3 separate regions of the Homo sapiens genome follow, and all the other regions are linked to region 3. Evidence: promoter capture Hi-C in human tissues and cell types (Jung and others, 2019). All regions are on one chromosome and are shown on one strand. The core of a region is centred on a gene start or on the middle of the fragment in contact, and the rest is flanking DNA. Distances in the headings are between cores, read along the strand shown.

Region 1 (2,700 bases), core at 150-2,649, 34 kb after region 3:
AAATCATTTTATTTTATTATTAATATTTTTTGAGATGGAGTCTCGCTCTGTCATCCAGGCTGGAGTGCAGTGGTGCGATCTTGGCTCACTGCAACCTCTGTCTCCTGGGTTCAAGCAGTTCTCCTGCCTCAGCCTCCCAAGTAGCTGGGATTTCAGGCCACCATGCCCAGCTGTTTTTGTATTTTTAGTAGAGACAGGGTTTCACTGTGTTGGCCAGGCTGATCTCAAACTCCTGACCTCAAGTGATCCACCTGCCTCGGCCTCCCGTGTGAGCCACTGCACCCGGCTGGTTAAATTATTTTAAACTAAGAAGATAAGAACTGAGGTTTCACAACAGCTATCACCAATACTATCATTTTGCCCATTTTCAATTGACAAGCCATGTTAGTTTCCTATTGCTGCTACAACAAATTGCCACAAACTTAGTGGCTTAAACAATGCAAATGTGTCATCTTACAGTTCTGCTGGTTACAAGTCTACATGGGCACCTTGGGCTGCGTTCCTTCCCGGGACTACCTGCATTCCTTGGCTAGTGACCTTGTTCATCTACCCAGCAACAATGATCAAGTCTTTCTTATCACTCCAACTGTTCTTCTGTAGTCGCATCTTCTTCCCTCTGAATGTCCTCTCCTGCCTCCCTCTTCCACTTTTAAAGACCTTCGTGATTACATTGGGTCCACCCAGAGAGTAACACAGAATACTCTCCCTGCCTTAAAGTCAGGCAATTAGGAGGGTTTTGTTTTTGTTTTTGTTTTTTGAGACAGGGTTTGGCTCTGTCATCCAGGGTGGGGTACAATGGCGTGATCTTGGCTCACTGCAACCTCCATCCGCCTGTAGGACTCAAGCAAGCCTTCTACCTCAGCCTCCCAAGTAGCTGGGACTACAAGTGGGCACCACTTTTTTTTTTTTTTTTTTTGGTAGAGATGGGCTTTCACCATGTTTCCCAGGCTGGTCTGGAACTCCTGGGCTCAAGCGATCCTCCTGCCTTAACCTCCCAAGGCACTGGGATTACAGGAGTGAGCCACCACGCCCGGCAGATTAGCAGTCTTAATTCCATCTGCAGCCTCAATTCCCTTTGCCATGTAACCTAACATATTCATAGGTTTGGTTTTAGGACATGGGCATTTTTGGGAGGCCATGATTGTGCCTACCACACAAGCCAAAGACCCAGAGAGGCTAAATAATTTGCCACAGGTTATATGGCTAGAAAACGGTAGAGCCAGACTTCAAAAGCAGGCTGACCCCAGCACTTTGAATGAGTGCTGACCCAAGCACTCTCATTGTTAATCATTGCACTACACTTCCGTAGCTCGTTTTCCCTTCTCAGCAACCCTACTGTGAGGTAGGTATGGTTATGACTGCTATGTGCAGTTTACAGTTGAAGACATGAAGACTCTCAGGGATGATGTGGCTTGCCCAAAGTTCACACAGGTAGTGGAAAGCAGAGGAACCAGGTTAGTCGGACTCAGATAAGAGATGTACCCAAAGCCAGGCACGGTGGCTCACACCTGTAATCCCAGCACTGTGGGAGGCTAAGATGGGAGGATCACTTGAACTCTAGAGCTTGAGACCAGCCTGGGCAACATAGGTAGACCTGTCTCCACAGAAAACTTTAAAAAATAGCCAGGCGTGGTGATGTGCGCTTGTAGTCCCAGCTACTCAGGAGGCTGGGGTGGGAGGATTACTTGAGCCTGGGAGGTCAAGCCTGCAGTGAACTATAATTGCAGCACTGCACTCCAGCCTGGGTAACTGAGCAAGACCTTGTCTCAAAAAACAAAAAAACAACAAAAACAAAAACAAAAAAAACAAAAACAGAGAGAGAGAGAGAGAGAGACAGAGGTACCCACAATGAAAGGAAGACATTGGCTACTGTGAGAGTGAGATTGTCATCCTTAAACCAAGAGCATTTCAGCTGGGCGCAGTGGCTCACGCCTATAATCTCAGCAATTTGGGAGGCCAAGGTGGGTGGGTCACCTGAGGTGGGGAATTTGAGGCCAGCTTGACCAACATGGAGAAACGCCATATCTAATAAAAATACAAAATTAGCCAGGCATGATGGCAGGTGTCTGTAATCCCAGCTACTCGGGAGGCTGAGGCAGGAGAATCGCTTGAACCCAGGAGGCAGATGTTGCGGTGAGCCAAGATCACGCTATTGCACCCCAGCCTGGCAAAAGAGCGAGACTCCATCTCAAAAAACACACACACAAACAAAAAACAAACCACAAGAGCATTTCAAATACTTTTGCTAAAATCAACAGCTCTTCCCTTAGGTATCCCACAGTACTGGACTACTCTCATTTCCTTCAGACCTCTTCTCAAATGTCAGCTACTCAGCGATACCCTGACCACCCTATCCAAAATAGTAGCTCTCATGCCCCAACCCCCATTCTCTTGTCTCTTCTCTTACTGCTTGTCATAATTATGTAAATTTTTTGTGCTAGAACAAATGCTTCATGAGAGCAGGGGCTGTGTCTGTTTTGTACACTGCTGCATTCCCAGGGTCTGGCATCCAGCAGGCACTCCATAATTTTTTAGTCTGAAATCAATAATAACTTAATCCAATCTCAATATTCTCATCAATGGACTTGAGAATAAGCAAATGTTATTAATGTATCTACATTAGATACTGGGACTCTTGGCATTTCAATTGAAAAAGGCTTTCGGAGATATGAAGGACTGGACCAGCAAGAGATTCTCCAA
Region 2 (2,700 bases), core at 60-2,559, 50 kb before region 3:
CCATCAAAATGACAGCATTGTGTGAGCTCCTGGATCAAGCTCTGCCTGAAGCAAGCTACTTCATCTTTTGGTTACGTTAAGTCAATATCAACAGCAACAACAAAGATAATTTTATTATTTTGCCTAAGACAGCTTTAGTCAGTTCTCCCCACTCCCTTCACTTCTCTAAGTATCTCTTTCCCATCTGTGAAATGGGAATAATAATGTTCCCATCTCCTAGGTCTGTTGTATTAAGTGCGATGAGGCACTAAGTACCATGCCTGATGTGCCTCTGTTATCCTGAGCACCAAAGCACTTGCAACCCATTTTCTCATCTGATCCTCACCACAACCACAGGAGGTTTTTTTTGTTGTTGTTCTGGTTTTTGTTTTTTTTTTGAGACAGAGTTTCCCTCTGTTGCCCAGTCTGGAGTGCAGTGGCACGGTCTTGGCTCATTGCAGCTTCGAACTCCTGGGTTTAAGCGTTTAAGCAATTCTCATGCCTCAGCCTCCCAAGTAGCTGGGAATACAGACGTGTACCACCACGCCCGGCCAATTTTTGTGTTTTTTAGTAGAGACAGAGTTTCATCACATTGGCCAGGCTGGTCTCCAACCCCTGGCCTCACGTGATCCACCCACCTCGACCTCCCAAAGTGCTGGGATTACAGGGGTGAGCCACCACGCCTAGCCCAAGAGGTTGGCTTTTGATCTTTATCACCATCTTTTAAATAAGAAACACATTTGCCCAGCAAAAGGGTGACCCTATTCCCTGGCCAGAGATGAGGCATACAGAGTCAGAGGCTTAACCCAAGCCAGGCCAATCAAAACCTCTCTCTGGGAAATAAAAAAGAGAATCCTGGAGACTAAAAGTCACAAGAACTGAGCCATATAAATGGCCTGCCCTCAGGCAAAACCCATAAACTCTACTAGCTACCCAGTCTTGGCTGCCCGATTCTTCCCTGAACCATTTGAAGTCCCCCAGTGTTCTGTTTTTACTTAAGTTATCTGCAGAGTTAATGGCAGAATATTCAGCCTGAGTGCTTTCCCTTTTCCTGATTTCCTACTACCCCTGGCTTGCTTTCCCCATTCAGACAGTAGCCAGGGTGTCCTATGTTGGCTGCCTCAGAGAAGGAATGACCCAGCAGGAGGTAGAGAGCAAGAGACTTGGGCTCTTGACTTTTCAGTTCCAAATCTAAGAAACAGACTTGAAAGAATAGGTACAAAACTAGGCTATCCTGCCCCGAAACAGACAAACCCTCAGCCTGGGAGAGCAGAGGAAGTCAGGCAAGGAGGGAACAGAGCTGAGATGCTGCAGGATCCTTGAGGACGGTCTGTAGTCTGCAGCTGGTGAGTGCTGGGGGATGACAGAAAACTCCAGATAGGCTGGGGGGATCTGAAAGCAGAGGAGACTTGCACTTACTCTTCTTATTGGGTGGAGCTAAGAAAAGGGCAGAACACTTTACAGAAATGGCTACTTGGGCTTCTTGTCAAGTAACCCCCTGGGAGATCTCTGAGGCTCTCTGTACATCCCTCCATACCCTAGAGAGGAACATATGATCCAGGTGCACTGGAGAGAAGGGCAGATCCATAGAGGCCTGGTGGTCTGGGCAAAGAGAAGTAGCTGAGACCAATGAGAAACAATGACCAAGGAGCAGACAGTAAGATCACGTTCCAGGAGACACCAGGATGATGGATGATGATTGCAGACCACACACTCTGTCCCCAGTGTCTGAGCACCACAATAATAGCAGCCAATGCTACTGGACACGAGCCCTCACTGACATTCAGCTGGTACACCAGGTGTTATGGCCGGCGTCCATTTGATCCATTCATTCAACCAACAAATGTTTACTGAGCACATACTATGCACTCTATTGTGTCCAGGCACTATTCTGGACACTTGGAATATGTTAGTGAACAGTGATTTCTGCCCTTCAGGTGCTTAGATTCTAGTGACATATTACACACAATTAATATCATAAACATTACAGTATGTTAGAAGGTGGTAAATGATAGAAATCTTAGTAATAAATAAGTAGAGAATTAATGTGGGCAGGGGGGGATGTGGGCGGCAATACAAAATAGTGTGATCAGTAGCTGTGACTTGTGCTTCTTATTAAATACTTTGATAGTTACCCTGGGCCTGTTCTAGAAATTTACACAGATTCTCTCCACATAAACTTCCCCAGGACACAGGCATAACATTTGGGAAAATCCTGAACCAAGTGGGTCTAAGTTTCCAGCAAACAGAGGACACAGCGGGACTTGATACAGAGATTAGCAACAGCGAACTCCCAGTGCTCACTAAATGCCACAAATGTCAAAGTGCTCTATACTTATTAATTCATTTCAGCCTCACAACAACCCCATGAGGTCAATACTGTTACTGGGCCCATTTTATAGATGAGCCGGAGAGTTAAGAAACCTACCCAAATGACACAGGTACTGCATGGCCCCACCCTATCCCTCAGCACTCACCTCTATACTTTGAAGCTACCTGCTCTCACACCTGCCACTAGGTCTGAGGGCTTATTTTCTGGCTGTGAGAATTCTGAATTTTGCTGGGGAAGCAAATTCAGCCTGTGGCACAGGGCAGGCTGGAAGCACCTGAGGGTTCATGCCTCAGAAGCAGCCCCCACCCAGTGACAAACTGGGAGTCTGCAGGGGGGATAATGCAGGTGAATGTTCACCCAGCCTCCCAAGGCTCCCCAGTGGGCCTGAG
Region 3 (2,700 bases), core at 47-2,546:
CACCCAAGCCCTCTAGCTACCCCACCTGTTGGTGGATTCCCTTCCTCACCCCAGAACCAAATCCGGAGCTCTCATGTTCCTTCTGCCGGGTCCCAGGGCCCTAAAGAGTAGGTTTCCCTACAGCTCCCCACCCCTCGCTCTGGCTGAGGTTGTGCGCAGGCCTGGGAGGAGGAGGTTCAAGCCGCTGGCTGGTGGCCGGCTTCAGCCCACCAAGAAAGGCGACTCCAGGGACAAGAGCACCTGAGGTCAGGGGCACACACCAGCGGGCGGACAAGTGTAGAGTTGGCGCCGCCCTACACCTCTCTCCGGGAAGAGAGGGGAGGAAAGGCCGTCACCTGGCCGGTTCCCCTCCGTCTGCCCCAGGCGTATAAGAAGCAGGAGTCTGGAGCCCCAGCCCATGAGGGAAGGAGAGGAGAGATAAATGGGGGCGCTCAAGGCCTGGGGCGCCGGGCAGGGGTCTTGGGCAGGGATCCTCTGGATGTGGCCAAGACAAAGATGGAGAGGTAAGGTCTGCGCGCCACCTCCAATGGCGGGGGGCGCGTCGGAGCCCCAGGGGTGGGACGGCCAAAGCCCAGGGCTTGAAGAGTGGGCACATTCAGGAGACTCAGGGAGGGTGGCAGGTCGGCTCCAGGGACGAGGCAAGGGGCCTCCAATAGGCGCGGGTGAGGAGGGAGATGGGTCCTGGCGACCCAAAGGGCCCACCTGCGGGAAAGGTGAATGCAGACAATCTCGGGGTCCCTGGGGGAGAAGGCCAGAAGGTAGCGCATCCTGGAGACCCTGGGGTCCCGTGGGTGCGGAAGGAGACCCTGGGGGCGCCTTCCCAGGGGATTGGGGGTGGGGAGGAGGGCGCACGGGTCGGGGAGGGGGCTACCGGACCTGGATCCCGGGACACCCCGGGGGTCTGGGGGGCGGGCCGCGCGCTTACCTGCGTCCTCGTCGTCGAAGGAGTTCATGCACGGGAAGTAGATGGCGAGCGCCTCGAAGGAGGCGGACAGACTGAGGCGGCTCTGCGAGCGCTCCATGCCCGCGCCGGCGCCGGGCGCCTCGGCCGCGGCGGCGGCGGCGGCGGCGGGCGGCTTGGGCAGCTTGGCCGCCCCATTCTTGACGCGGAGTACGGCGCGCGGCGTGGTGGCGGCGGCCCGGGGCCGGGCCGAGGCTCCGCTGCGGGGCTGGCGGGCGCGGCGGGGCCGGCGGGCGGGCCAGGAGCTGGCGGCGCGCGGAGCCCGAGGCGCGCTGTGCTGCTGGCGGCGGCGGCGGCGGCGGCGGTGGCGGCGGCGGTGGCGGCGCAGCGCGCTCTGGTCCGCGGCGCCCCCCGCCGGCAGCGCGAGGCGGGCTTGGAGCGGCGCCGCAGCCAATCCGTGCCGCCGGGGGAGGGGGCGCCGCTGCGGGGCGTGGGAGCCCGGAGGGCGCGGGCTGCGGCCTCTTCTAGCAGCCCCCGGGCCCGGCAGGTGCGCGCGGGGAGGCAGGCGCCGGGCGAGGTTGTCTGGGCCCTGGTCCGAGGGCTGTTCCCGACCCCGCCTCGGCCCCCACCCTCAGCCGGCCGACTTGCGGAGAGGCCGGCGTCCAGTCCCTCACCCAGACAGGCCTCTCCCAGAGACACTGGCGCGCTCGGAGGGGATGCGCTCAAAGGGTCCCGCCCAGGCGGGTCGGCACTCGGCCTCCCACACAGAGACCCTCGGCTTCACACCTGCACCCACAGAGAAGCTCAAACAGGCACCCACACCTACACATTCACTCTGCAACATGCCCCGCAGACACCCGGACAGATACACCCACAGACCCACCCCCTCACAGATGCGGGGACAGACACGTCCACGGACACACGCAGACTCACGCAGAGACCTGCAAACACACTCAGGGAGGTAGGCAGGACATCCCTGGTGCCCGGCCTCCCTCACGGGGAGACTCTCAGATGCCACAAAACCCCACGAAGTTCAGGTAGGCATACACAGTCTCATGCATTCACACTTACCAAAGACACCCCAGAATTCATACACACATTCATACACTCAGATGAACACACAAGCCCAGACCCAGCACACACTCTGTGTCGCCTCCCCCTGTGATCATCTCAGCACTGTCAAACACTCTGACTGACACGGCCAGATGCACACACCTTCACCCTCAGACACACTAGAGTAGCACACACACGCCAAGACACAGCCACACAGACTCCATCCCTCCCAGTGTGGGTGCATCCCGACGGATTGACTGACACCCTCAGACTCAGGTACACTGAGACACACTTGGCAGGCTCACACTCACAGACTCTCCCATTATCACCCTCGGCGACCCGCAGTCCTCAGACACACACGGGCTCAGACACTCACAGCCCCAGGACAGAGACGAGCGAATCGGAAACCCGTGTTCCATTCCCTGCATGTGACCTGGGACGTGAGGGTCCCTGCCCACCTAATCAGGCCCCAGATGTCAAACAACCTTCTCAGCTGCTCGCACACCTCTTTATGAAGCCATCTGGCGACATGGAAACAGTTCAGGCCTCAGAAAGAGACAGCCCAGAGTTTGAATCTCAGCTGTGGTGCTGTCTTTCTGGGTGGCCTATGGCAAAACTCTTTATCCCATGGGTCCTGTTCCTCATCTGTACAATGGGGACAGGAGCCTTCCATTTTGGATGGTTGTGAACTGCCTGTAAGATAACACAGGTGTTTGTTTTCTATTGCTGCATAACAAATGAAGCAG

Evidence for each region. The method cuts DNA at HindIII sites, captures the fragments that hold promoters and counts their contacts. A contact is called where the count stands out against the background at its distance.
Region 1: a contact is called between a fragment that was not itself captured here and the fragment with the promoter of RIMS4 in region 3, in 1 of the 25 tissues and cell types used here (stomach).
Region 2: a contact is called between a fragment that was not itself captured here and the fragment with the promoter of RIMS4 in region 3, in 1 of the 25 tissues and cell types used here (spleen).

The regions. Positions count from the first base shown.
Region 1 is chr20:44,842,730-44,845,429 of GRCh38, forward strand. No RefSeq gene overlaps it. Among named protein-coding and RNA genes, the nearest start is that of RIMS4, 34 kb to the left of the region's middle. The HindIII fragment of the contact is 4,463 bases long and covers 1-2,700 here.
Region 2 is chr20:44,758,891-44,761,590 of GRCh38, forward strand. The region is part of intron 2 of RIMS4 (regulating synaptic membrane exocytosis 4); the gene reads right to left. Among named protein-coding and RNA genes, the nearest start is that of KCNK15-AS1, 14 kb to the left of the region's middle. The HindIII fragment of the contact is 8,944 bases long and covers 1-2,700 here.
Region 3 is chr20:44,809,250-44,811,949 of GRCh38, forward strand. RIMS4 (regulating synaptic membrane exocytosis 4) reads right to left here and starts at 1,297. Exons shown (of 6, transcript NM_182970.4): 1 at 926-1,297. The coding sequence starts at 1,022. The HindIII fragment of the contact is 17,434 bases long and covers 1-2,700 here.